Regions from separate parts of the Homo sapiens genome. Here region 1 is linked to region 2. The links are contacts of gene promoters, found by promoter capture Hi-C in blood cells and fetal thymus (Javierre and others, 2016). All regions are on one chromosome and are shown on one strand. The core of a region is centred on a gene start or on the middle of the fragment in contact, and the rest is flanking DNA. Distances in the headings are between cores, read along the strand shown.

Region 1 (6,732 bases), core at 3,925-6,424, 3.5 Mb before region 2:
TTAGCTGTCTTCAGTATGAACTTGGGATGAGGGCAATAAGAAACCCTATGTTTCCAGCCTCCACTAAGATGAACTGGCAGTGTGTCAGGAAAATTCCCAGTATGGAGCAGTTTTATTACAATTCAGTACAGTTGGTTCTTGCATAACCTTTAGAAAATCATACATAAAACATTCACATCTATATAAATAAAAATCACCCACACACTTTATTAATAGCTTTGTTCACTTTTTTTCCTGGGTGTTATGCTGCATGTTCCTACTGAGCCCCTTTTTTAAGTCTTTTTAAAAGATAACTTTAAGCTTTCTTAAAAGCAGAAAGGTTATGGTAATATTAGTAATCAAATATAAGTGTAAGATAATTCTTGATAAGTCCCATTAGACACATATCTCCCTCCTGATCACATACTCTAACTAGTGTCTAACTGTCCTTTTTACATTTAGTGACAGGGACTGGCTTATTCGCTAGATATAGCCAATTTAACTTTAGGAAAGAAAAAGGGACAGAAGATTGTACTTTCTTTCATTTGTGATAATGTTGGGGTTTATTTTAAAACAACTTTTATGGTTATATTACTGTTAGTTTGACTGCAATAAATACATGGGAAAGTGATTACAAGAACATACAAGTAGTCTTGGCCTCCTTTTTCTTTAGCTAGAAACATGTTTTAATTAACCAGAAGTGTATTTTCAGGTGTCATTTTCCTAAATCCAAACTTTACAAAACTTGCCATATATTCCCCCAAAGTATGTGGTATAAAATATCAAAATAATTTAATAATAAGCCTCTAGACTTAACTACCAATTTATAGGAAATATAAGAGCTAGAGAAACATGTTAAATGGCATCACTGTCCAGAATGTGGGAAATCTACAGGACAAATTACCCAATTTCTTTAACAAATGAATAACAATAGGGAGGGGAAGATAGGTAAATGTTTTAGATTAAAAGAGATCTATAAATCAAATACAATATGTGGACCTTGTTTGTATCCTAATCTGAGCAAACCAACTGTAAAAAGATACTTTTGAGACAGTTTGAGAAATCTGAATGTTGACTATTCGATGACATTTTAAAATTATCAATGTTGAGAAGCATAATAAAGGTATTGAGGTTGAGATTTTATTTAAAATATTCTATGAAAAAAATAAATTTGGAAGTAATAGCTAAGACAAGAATGACAAAATATTGTTAATTGTTGAAGCTATGTGATGTAGGTTTGCAATTTTCCGTAGTATAAAGTTAAATTAAAACACACACACAATGAGAAGGGAAAAAAAATAGATCATCACTGTAATAGGAAGCAAAACTATATTCACTTTAGGGTAGCAATTTAGTTTCAGCCAACAGTGGCATCCTATAAATTAAGTACATAATATATTAAATTTGGGAGAAGGAGAGACAGGCCAGTCAGTCAGTCTGTCCTCTTTCCTTCCCCTTCCCCTTCTTCCTTCCTTCCTTCTTCCCTCCCTCCCTCTTTCTTTCTTTCCTTTCTTTCTCCTTTCTTTCTTCCTTTCCTTCCTTCCTTCCTTCCTTTCTTCTTTCTTTCTTTCTTCCTTCCCTTCTTCCTTCCCGTCTGTCTTTTTTTCTGTCTGTCTTTTGACAGGATCTCACTCTGTTGCTGAGGCCGGAGTGCAGTGGTGAGATCACAGGCTCACTGCACCCTCAACCTCCTGTGTTCAAGTGATCCTCCCACCTCACCCTCTCTAGTAGCTGGGAGTATAGGCATGTGCGCCACCACGGCCAGCTAATTTTTGTATTTTTTGTAGAGACAGGGTCTCACCATGTTGCCCAAGCTGGTCTTGAACTCCTGGACTCAGGCGATCCACCCGCCTCTGCCTCCCAAAGTGCCGGGACTACAGGCATGAGCCACTGCGCCTGGCCAGGAAAGGCATTTCTAATTCAGCCTTACCTAACCTACAACTCACTGCCCCCTTTTCTCCTACTTAATACCATAAAATTGTAGGTGATAATGCATTGTTTGAAAAGAATGATGGGCCAGGTGTGGTGGCTCACACCTGTAATCCCAGCACTTTGGGAGGCCGAGGTGGGTGGATCACGAGGTCAGGAGATCAAGACCATCCTGGCTAAAGAAAAGAATGATGAACTTCGAATGGAGCAGATGGACCTAGTGTTTGCAGTGAAACACAAGTGTCTTTGACTTCAGCTTTAGTCTCCCTCCTATGCCATTTGTGGCATTCCCCTGGGACTGCCATACTATAATTGTGGAGTCAGTTGTATGCCATTTCCTCATAGCCAGAACTTTTGAGTTTATATATTATTCTTTGATAAAATACCTATTTTACAACAGGACATTCTTTTTTTACCTTTCATTGTTTTTGTTCTGTAAAAATGAATACTCTTAGTGAGTAGATTAAGCGCTTTACACACATAATTTTGTATAGCATAATTTACCTTCTAGGAATTTTTTCTTTCCTGAGACTCGATTTCATGGTATTTTTCTAGTAGAGCCTGGGTCTAATCAGAACATGGAACTGTACACAATTGGTATTTTGATACTTATCCATATCACAGCAAAGAAAAGTTTGTAAAATAAATGAATGTTGAAAGCAGTTTCTTCAGTGGACCTGCTTTTCTAAGTGGGAACATTGGTTTTCAATGCTGTGAAGGCTTGGCTGAGATGATCTAGAAAGGAGCCCTCACAAATCTGCATTTTAGAACAAATGCCTTCTTTCTGAATTCTCTAGTATTATTCTACCATGACAAATTTAAGAATAAGCCAAACAATTTTTAAGATCCAACTCCAGCTATAATTGAAATTATTAAGGCACCATACATAAAAGTAGTTATTTTACATTTGAACATATTTGTGTAATCTATTTTATCAACGTATCTGTAATCATCTATTTTATCAACCAAATTTTGAGTTCTCAAAAGATCTGGAGTCATTTCTGTCAGTGTAACTCTACGTAGCCTCTGTCATAATAATGTGAAAGTAGAAAGATACTTGCTAAATATATCTTGATTAAACCTGACTTGTTTCATCTCCTAAACCTAGAACTTTAAACTCAGAACTTTGGTTGATAGGAGAAGGTTTAAGTATAAAAAAAATGTGAATAAGACTGCATTGTGAAAAGTATTACTACTAAGAGCATTTTTTTGTATTATGAAAAGTACCGTAAGATAGTCATGGAATTTGGATAGTGGCCGGGTGCAGTGGCTTACAACTGTAATCCCAGTACTTTGGGAGACCTAGGCAGGTGTATTATTTGAGCTGAGGCATTCAAGACCAGCCTGGGCAACATGGCAAAACCCTGTCTCTACCAAAAAAAAAAATATATATATATATAATATATATACATATGTAAAATATATATTATATAATATATATTATATTATATATAATATATGTATTATATAATATATAAAATATATAATATATATTATATAATATATAAAAATATATAATATATATTATATAATATATAAAATATATAATATAATATATATTATATGATATATATAATATATAATATAATATATAAAATATATATAATATAATATATATTATATAATATATAAAATATATTATATGATATATATAATATAATTTATATAATATAATATATATTATATATATTTTATATATTATATTATATAATATATTATATATATCATATAATATATATTATATATAATATATAAAATATATATGTACATATATAAGTAATATATGTACATATATAATATATCTTATAAAAAGACAATTTCTTATATAAGAAAGTTGAATAGGTACTGGTAAAAATAATAGTTGTTACTCTTTATTAAGTACTATTTGTCGAGCACTTCACTAAGCACTCTATTTACAGTCATACATTGTGAAAGTGTGCTAAATTTATATACTACACAGAGTTTTCAGTTGGGATTTTTGAAAAATATAAATGCTAGAAGAGTAATGATTGTTTAATAGTCTGTATAATCTCTGTAACACTGGGGAAATACATCATTTTCTTGACATAGTTGGAAGTACTGTAAAGAAGGCATGCTTTCTATAACATCTTATTAAAATTACCCATCTTGTGATGAAAACTGATGAAATTAGTATAACCTCTCATCATGATGGCCAAGCTTTGTGACCCTTTATTGGAGTGGTTTTTATTCTAATTATTAACAAGTTTGGTGTCTGAATTCATTCGATATCTAATAAAATTGTTGACAAGGAAATGTAGTTTTGACACTTCAGAAGAGACATTTTCTACTTTATAAAATTAAGTTCCTACATGTGAAATTTGAGAAGCCACCAAAGTAAACATTCTATTATTCATTTAAAGCTCTTAATTGAGCCGGGCGCGGTGGCTCACGGCTGTAATCCCAGCACTTTAGGAGGCTGAGGCTGGCAGATCACGAGGTCAGGAGTTTGAGACCAGCCTGACCAACATGGTGAAACCCCGTTTCTACTACAAATACGAAAATTAGCCAGGCATGGTGGCAGTTGCCTGTAATCCCAGCTACTCCAGAGGCTGAGGCAGGAGAATTGCTTTAACCCAGGTGGCGGAGGTTGCAGTGAGCCGAGATCGTGCCACTGCACTCCAGCCTGGGCAACAGAGCAAGACTCCATCTCACACACACACACACAAAAAGCTCTTAATTGTATGAGCACCTCTATGCCATTTAGAGGCAACCAGTATTAATATTTAAAATTCAATTTTATTTAAGATTGTATTATCAATGTTAACAACCAGACTGAATAATTAAAGGGCCATTAAAGTAATACATAGGAATTAAACATTTTGTATAGAAGAAAAAAATTAAAAACCCTCTTGGTTTAAAATGAAATATTAATATAAGACAGGTGTTTTTGTTTGTTTTTAACTAAATAAGGCTTTTTTTCCTAAAACTATGACATCATTAATAACTTCCCCCATACTCCAATAATAGACAGTTTTTCCCCATCATCTCCCTAGTACCTAGGGCAAACTTACAGTTGTTCTTCGCAATATGAATGGAATGGTAAAGCCTGGAAAGTCCAGTAAAATATATTATCTTATAACTGAGTTTTTCTCACCAAATTTTTAACCACATCTGCTATTGACAGGTAAACAAATTTGAACTGATTGCCTTTTGCTTTCCATGATAATATGCAGGTGAGTGCGCAAATAAGTGGTAAAAGACCAACAAAGCAGTAAAAAGAAATAGACAAAGTATTCAACCAGCAAACTAAAGAACTCATTTCTGAATATTTTTCTATCCCCCTACCCTCCCGTATGAACTCCTTTTTGGCAGTAACTGTCTCATTCTTCCCTAAGTGACAGACACATCAGCTGGAGTACGTCATTTAAGCCAGTGTAGGTGATTTAGGCTGGCAACTTTAAATAGCTGCCATGAAATGTTGTCATTAGTTTGCTATCTGCAGGGAAAACAAAATGAAACAGGAATATACAAAATGAGATAAGAGTCTCTCTTACCTTACATAAACCTTATGTTTGAGGGCAGGGGGCAAACCTTTAAAAAAAAATTATTTATTTATTTAGAGACATGGTTTTGCCATGTTGGCCAAGTTGGCCTCCTGGGCTCAAGTGATCCTCCCGCCTCTGCCTCTCAAAATGCTGGGATTACACGCATGAGTCACCACTCCCAGCTGAAAATTTTTAAAATTTATTGTTAGTTCATATTTGGGAAACAAAAAGCTCACTTTTCAGTCTGAGATTTTGCAAAAGTGGAAGTGTAGTGTAAAAAAATATAAAACATACATACCAATAGCCAGCCTAAAACTGCTTGTTAGCAACCCAAGCTAGTAATTAAAAATTTTGAAATCTGGGAATAAAAGCAAGATTAATTAAAGTACTTGGTGGTTACCCATAGGTGTGTGTGTGTGTGTATGTGTGTGTGTGTGTGTGTGTGATTAGCAACCACTTGGCAATGTATTCAGTATTGTTATTTGACAAATAAGGATGAGGAATTTTGAATTGGAAATAAGGATGATAAATTCCTCATGTACCTTTAAAAATACATCTTTTAAATGAACTCTTACTGAGAGAATAACTACTAAAAGTTTAATTGTAGTTTTTTATTATAATATTTTGCTTTGATTTTATACTAAAAACTGCCAACCAGATAACATCTAAATGTATCTTTTTCAATATGACAAAGTTACATAAGAAGACTCCCCTTGCACGTAAAGAAAAATGCAATTATTTTCTATTCTGAATCTCCAGACTGCTGTTTTAGAAAATCATATCTGATTATTTGCTCAGCAGAAGATTATTGAGTTGATTTAGCTGTGATTTTACTTAACAAAGCTTCAACTGCATTCCTACTGTGGAGTCCGAAAAAGGTAGAGAGATATAAATGATACATTCAAACTGTGATTTTTGTGAACAGGGCCATCGATGCACCCCTCGGAGCTAATAGCGGAGATGAGAAACAGTGGGTTTGCACTGAAACGAAATGTACTGGGGAGAAACTTGACCGCAAATGATCCATCACAGGTAATGATCTTTTTATCAGTAAGCTGAAAATGTCTATAAATCTAAATGTGATTGCTTGTGAATTGCTACTTAATGTTTTCCAATATGCATATATCCATAGGAAAGTAAGATAGAGCAAAGAAAATGCCCAAAATGTGTTTTGATTTTGCTTTATTATTTTAATCTAAATGAGAAATTGTTTATAAACCTGTATTTTAATAAATGAAACTGCTCCTCTGAGTTTATGTGGATAAAATATCTAACTGAACTGGTGATGAGGTTGTTGGTTTTTCCTTCCTGCTAACTT
Region 2 (6,722 bases), core at 421-2,920:
TCCTCGACTGGTCCGGCGCAGAAACAGGCTGCAAAGAGAAGCGAGAGCTGTGCGGGGAGGACTTCCGGGGTCCTGCACACCGGAGGGACTGAGCAGCCGGGGGCACGGAGGCTCCCCTTGAAGATCCGGCTCTGGAGAGACAAGAGGGAGGAAAGGCAGCGAGCCTGCCTGGTAGGGGTGCGCAGGGGTGGGGGCAGCGGAGGAGACGTGCGCGCTAGCTCCGGTACTGGGGCGCAGGGAGCGTAGCCCTGGGCCGCTCTCGAGTCTGGCGGTGCATCGGCGCGACCTGGAGTGAAGCGCCGAGACGAGGCGGGGTCGGGGTCGGGGTGGGGGTCCAAGGCCAGTACAAGACGCAAGGGTGTGGGGGACTAGGCTAGGAGCACAGGGGAGCGCTCAGTGAGCGATTTTCCAGCCGAGCCGCTACAAGCCCCATTGGGCACTCAGCAGCCGGCGTGTGGGCCAGCGGGGGGAGGGCGCACGGGGCGGGCATGTCTGGTTCGGTGTCTGGTTCCCGTTGTTGTGTCTGGCTAATTCCCTGGAAAGAAAGAGGCTAACTGCTCCGGGGACTAGGGACTTTGGTGAGACAAGGTGAGAGGGGGAAAAAGGCCCATATCTTTACGTTCTCCCTCGGACTTGGCCAGAGAAGAACCACAGTCACCTTGCACTCCAGACAGCCAGAAAGCAGCGAGTCGGAATGTTGCTTGCCTCCCTCTTATCCCAGCCGGTTTTTAGCCATCGCTAAGCCTAGGGCGAGGTTTCGGTCCGGTTTCAGCGTTTCTCCTCTACCTAGCCCCCTGAGGACCCCAGATTTCTCGCGGTACAGATCCAGAGAGGGTGGGGTAAGTAAGCATGGGGAACGTCACCGGGGAAACGAACTTGCGCGCAGCGCGCAGGAGGCGGCGGACAAAGATCTTGCGCGGCGCCCCTGCTCGACTCTCGGCGCTGGCGCGATGGCGCCCGAAGGCCCCGGGACAGAGAGATTGCGGGCTAATCTGGGTAGATCGAGGACCCCACAGAGAAGGGCCCACCGGCCATCGCCTCCACACCCTCCCTCCGACCTCACTCCTAGCCCCGCGCGCGCAGTCGCACAGCAACTCGGGCAGCGGGTCGACTACGGCCCCTGGAAAAGTAACAGGTTACCGTTCCTAGTAGCGCCTTCGGCTGCTGCTGCCCAGGCGCCCTTTGGAGGGACAGGCGCTCGCAGCATGGAAGCTCAAGGGAAAATCGCTCTTGCCCCACTTCAACTAGAGCCTCAGCCTCCGTGCTTCCCCGGGGCGTGAATCCGGAGGGCAGGGATAAGAAGAGTGACGAGGGAGGCGGGGGGGGGGGGGTCCCTGCGCAGCGCACCCGTGGAGAGCAGGGACTAGGGCGGGCAGGAAGCACTCATTTCGGGAGGTTGGGTGGCCGGCGCTGGGATGGGGTTGGTTGAGAAGCCGCGGGAGGAGAGGACCTGGCTGAAAAGCCACGGTTGGGCGCTGGGAAGTCCAGGTGGTCGCTAGCTTACCCACCTCGGCTCTGCGACAGCGAGCCGGGCACTCCCGCCTTTCCTCTGCACAGCGCCCAGCGATCCGCTCGGCTCGGCCCTGACAGGCGTAATCTGCCCGGCGTCACCTCCAGCTGCTTCCTCGTTCTCGCTAGTTCCCTCTCGCACGCGAGCGCCAGGAGAAGAGAGAGATTCGGAGAGGCGGCTGCACGGCTCCGGGGTAGGCGGGGGCAGAGTGGGGAGGCGGGGACCGGATCGGCGGGGAAATCACGAGGCCGTTGCTCGCGGGGGCAGCTAGTCGGCGGAGCGGCGGGGCTCCTCTGCAGGTGCCTGACCGCCTCTGGAGCTTTATAGGGCGATTATAAATCCAGCTCACGGTTTTGCGCCCGGAAGGAAAAAAAAAAGGTCTTATGAGTAATCCAGAACGTACTCAACACGCTTTTTTTTTTTCCTTTGGAAATAGGCAGGCTGTCGGGTGAGAGGAGGGAAAAGATAATTCCTACGAAGAATTCTGCCTTTCTGAGCGTTTCTTCTTCCCTCCCCTCCTTTCCCCTCTCCCATTTCCCCTCCCCCTCCCATATATTGTAGGAGACGAGCGGCGGTTTTGCCTCAGTGCTTTTCCCCGGGGTTCCCCCAGATCTGTGACCCTGCGACGCTTCCTTGAGCGAAAGCGCGCTTTGGGTCGTGTCCTCGTTGGCTCTCTACGGAGCTGGGATTGTTGTAACCGCAAAGGAGGCAGAAATGAGGGGAGACCTCTTAGACCATGGAGGAATTACAGTTTCCTCATCCAGCCCTGGGCCCCATCAAAGTACCACACCTGGCCACAGCTACCCAGTGCCACCGGCAGAGAAAAGGACCCCGCGTCCCTTTTGCTATGCGCTCGCTCCTCGCTTTGGCCCCCTTGGTGATGGGAAAAGAAGGCCTCCTGATTAATCACGTTTGAAGGTTGATGACACGCACGAGCGCCGCTGCACGCGCATGGGGCACCCGAGCACAGAGGTGCCCGGAAGGGGCGGACCAGCCCCCCTTGCCCTGGCCCGCTCCCCCTTCGATTTCACGCGCTTTAAGGATTCTCCCTTTGCAATATTTAGGCGTAGTTAAAAGAACCGCTGCGTTGGGAGAAGCCCCTCGCCGTAAAAATGCGTTGAAAGAGAAATTCCCACCAGAGGGCGCCAAGAGCCCAGAGACGGAGAGGCCCTGCGCTCCCGGGTCTCTCCGCCAGCGCCCGAGCGGAGCCCACACCTGGAGCTGCTGGCCAGACGGTTACGCGCCGGCTTGCCTCTTCATGCCTTCCCTCACCGCCCTGTCACTAGTTTAAGTTCTCCCCTTTCTTCTCCCCCAGTTTTTTTCTTTAGGGCAAAAATGTTGATGTCTGTGCGTGTCTGGGTGACACCGTGTAGGCAGTGATTCCTTTACTGGTATTTACCGTGGTCCTCCCCCTCTCCCCAGGTGGTGCAGCACGCAGGGGTTATTTATGCGCACGTCTGGGGCCTCACTGGTTCAGCGGAGGCCCGTCCGTTTTCTTTGAATGCCTTATCGCCTTTCACCACAACACAATGGAAACACACACAAAAATATTATAAATTACCGAGAGTTCCATAAGGGAGATCGAAGGGTCCGCCCTGGGCAGACATGGCCTGATCAGCAAGAGGGATCTCGCTGTGGGGTTTGAAATAATCGCGTTGCCTTTGGTACTAAAGAAACTACTGTTTTGTCGCCTTGTCTCCACCTGACGATGAAATCCCCGGCACTTTTTAAGGACACAAAAAACATCCTAAACGGCGGGGCGCGCGGTGACTGCAGCCCCGGGCACTGAGGCTTGGGGCTGGACAGGCTGGGGGTGTCTGCTCCACGTAGGAAACGTCCCCCCAAACCACTCAACCGGCAGCTGCTCTGCGCTGCTTGAAGTGGGCGGCATACAACCAGGTGAAGCTCGGAATTCCATCCACCGGCCCTCCTAGAGCCTTCCCTAAACGAGACGCTCGCACCAATCAGGGAGCCAGGTGCCAGTGCTAAATCATTCAAGACGCACGGGGCAGGAGACAGGAAGGAGGAGGCAACACATCTCCCGGTGCCCCTCGTTCTTCATTGTCCAGCATAGACGCCCGCTCGCCTCAACCTTTTCCCAAAACCCGTGATTCCCTGGAAAGGAAGATTCGTTTACTTCACCTGTGGCACGAGATTGAGACATTTCCAACCACTTCCTCCTTTGACCCCAGAGTTCAAAACACCCCTAACGTTTTAGCCAATGAAATAATCTCGTTGGAGAAGGAATCTCCTGCAAGGCTAGGTAACGCAAGCTGAAGCTGAGTCCGTCCAGCTTCGAGGACATCCCTCTCTTTCTCCTTTATGGTGAGTAGGGGAGGAATGAAGACTTTTGTCCGTCCTTGTTTAGAATGTTTAATTGAATATTAGCAGTAATTGATTAAACGAATATTTATTAATCCCCTACTATGTGCCAAGCACTTATTTTTTGGAGCTTGCATTGTCCCTGCGGTTTATATTATCCTGCACGCCGGGAGTGGACATTCCGGTGAGGCAGGGAGAGGAGCGCACTTAGAAACTTCATAAATTTGATTTAATTTTCAATGATCTCCTCCAACTCGAACTCTTGGGCACAGCAGGAATGGTAATGAATTGAAGGCCTGGAATTCCACTCCATCCAGATTACTGAGTTTTGAGGTAGGGCATAGATCTTTCAGCACGAAGGACAGCGCCCGTCCTTCTGGTCCCCATGCCTCTGTTTCGTTTGCTTCCGCCAATAGCTATGGGCCAACCCACCAGACTCGCCCCAGCCCTCCTCCCTCCTGACAGTAACTGCTGTTTGTTTTGCCTAGTTGGGGGGTGAGGTATTTCGCCCACTGCTCTTCTCTCCGGTAGGAATTTGAACTAAGAGTGGCCGTGGTTGTCATTCGGCTCTAAACAACATTTGAAACCTATATTTTTGTTTATGTCTTTCACTCTTCCTTTAATCTTTTATCATTCCTGGGGGAGGATTCTTGGGATAATGGGGGTGGAAAAAAGATATCCTCTCCGGGGACTCGAACCGGTGATGAGGGGTGGCCCGGAAGGGAGTGGTGTCCGCCCAGCTGTTTCGATTGTATTTGAAGCGCTTTGAAGAAATGGGAACGCGGCGCTCAAAGGCAGAAGAAGGAGGGGGCGATATGCGACCCCTCCAGTCTCTCTCCGGCATTAGGGATTTGCGAGCTTGCAGCCCCGGCTACTCCACCCTGTCTGCCGAGGATAACGTTTCCTTAGGTCAACCACCGCTGGGACTTGGGAACACGACCCTCCGCCCACAATGCCCTTTATTCCTTTCCCCGTCGTGGGTGGGTGGGGGATTGTTTAAAGATATTCCAACCGGATTTGGGGCCAAGCCTTTTCTGCAAAGGGAAAAACGGGTGAGTAGGAGGAGCGTGAGGCGTTGAAGGAGCGCCCAAACGGGCTGCGGGGAGATCTTCACGCCTAAAACGTGGTCAGTCAAGGTGAGTAGACAGGACACGTCAATTTTTTTTGACGCAATTAGAATTTTTAGCCTCCAGGAAACGTAATTTAGAGCCATGGTATTGGTTCGTTTCAGCTGGCTCCTTAAAATCTATTTTAAGTGTCTAATTTATGACCAGAAAGGAAAAAAAAAATGGCAGTGCTCACCGGTTAAACGTCTGTCTCCCGAGACGAGAACTGGGGGAAGCGTTACTTAACCTTTCATTCTGCTTAAGTCGGAGCTAAGGTCCATTTGCTGTTTTTGTACTTTAAAGATAGTTCCCTGAATTATTCTGGACTTTTTTGAAGGATCATAGCTAAATCCACACCCCCATCCCAACAGACCACACAACACTCACAGCTGGGAGGCAGGAAAATGTTAAAAGGGTGAGAGGGGGTGGGAGGGGTGACAGCAGAATGCTGGAAGGCTGGAGAGGACTCTAGGAATTACAGCCACTTTTTCTAAAGAAGAGAGCTGGATTCTTCGGATAACTGGCAAATGGTCCTTCCCCCTTGATAGTCAGAAGATGAAAATATTCTAATACAAATAAATGAATCAAGGAGGACAGGGTGATTTGTGTTTGGGCAAATCTCCTTGTGCAAATCTTGAAACGTCCAATTCTTGCTATTCTAAACTCGAAGACAGAATGACCACCAGGTGGCAATAGATTACAATTTCTGAGAAGAAACAACAGGCCTCCCAAGGGAGCAGTTCTTCAAGGAAGAATGCAGGCTCATACTCATCCCTGCCAAATTTCACAAAGCAGGGCCTTTTCAAATGGTCAGAAGTGCTCTGGAAGTGACCTGAAACACCTAGGGTAGTGCGTCTCTTTGGTGAAAGACTAGGGGGTGCATGGCATCTGTTTTTTTCCCACCTAGCTGTGTCTCAAATGTAGTGAACCTGTGAATATTAGGCAAGAAACTGATTCACTGCAAAACTGGAAACCAAGGAAATACAGTTCTGGATTGTAATTCTGATGGGGAGCTTTAAAGGTATATCTGTGTCTTCTGATCTCAACAAAAACCAAGGCGAAATCAGTCCTTCCCCAAAAGGGTGGGATGCAAAAAGGAGGATTTCCCACCTGAGATGCTTTAGTGAAATACAGAATTCATGGGAGACTGAGGAGAGTAATATTTTATTCATTTCTTTTAGTGTAAAAGCTCTTGGACTACTTAAAATAACAGATATTTAGTCCCCATTTTCAAACATAGGTATCTGGGACTGTTGTTTGTGAAAAGGTTCTGGAAAGTTCTGACTTAGTTGTGGCGAATCTAATAACTTAAACTTCTATTCCAGGCCAGGTTTCTTCCCCTAATCCTGACCAGTTACTCAGGGGAGGAAACTGGAACTTTAACAGAAGGGGTGCATGATTGATTGCCGTTCCCATTAGGCCCCACCTTCAACATTGGGGGTCACATTTCAGCACGAGATTAGAGAGGACAAACATCCAAACTATATCAAATATTGTGACAATAGCTGACGAATACACTCTCCTATACCAAGAAGGGCAACGGGGACTGTGTGCGGTGGTTCACGCCTGTAATCCCTGCACTTTAGGAGGCCGAGGCAGGCAGATCTCTTGAGGCCAGGAGTTCGAGACTAGCCTGGGCAACATGGAGAAACCCAATCTCTATTAAACATACAAAAATTAGCCAGTTATGGTGCTGCACGACCTGGAATCCCAGCTACTTGGGAGTCTGAGGCACGAGAATCATGTGAAGTCGGGAGGCAGAGGTTGCAGGGAGCCAAGATCGT

What was found. The method cuts DNA at HindIII sites, captures the fragments that hold promoters and counts their contacts. A CHiCAGO score of 5 or more calls a contact.
Region 1: a fragment that was not itself captured here is called in contact with the fragment with the promoter of GAD1 in region 2 in 1 of 17 cell types (total B cells); the score reaches 7.1 in total B cells.

The regions. Positions count from the first base shown.
Region 1 is chr2:174,351,333-174,358,064 of GRCh38, reverse strand. It overlaps CIRSR (corepressor of RBPJ and splicing regulator), which reads left to right. Exons shown (of 10, transcript NM_004882.4): 8 at 6,340-6,446. Among named protein-coding and RNA genes, the nearest start is that of SP9, 20 kb to the right of the region's middle. The HindIII fragment of the contact is 2,171 bases long and covers 4,089-6,259 here.
Region 2 is chr2:170,811,835-170,818,556 of GRCh38, reverse strand. It overlaps GAD1 (glutamate decarboxylase 1), which reads right to left and starts at 1,670. Exons shown (of 17, transcript NM_000817.3): 1 at 1,509-1,670; 2 at 1-28. GAD1-AS1 (GAD1 antisense RNA 1) reads left to right here. Exons shown (of 4, transcript NR_197761.1): 1 at 1-171; 2 at 642-839; 3 at 1,525-1,703; 4 at 2,072-3,934. RefSeq lists enhancers at 1-279, 1,519-1,688 and a silencer at 1,776-1,855. The HindIII fragment of the contact is 11,655 bases long and covers 1-6,722 here.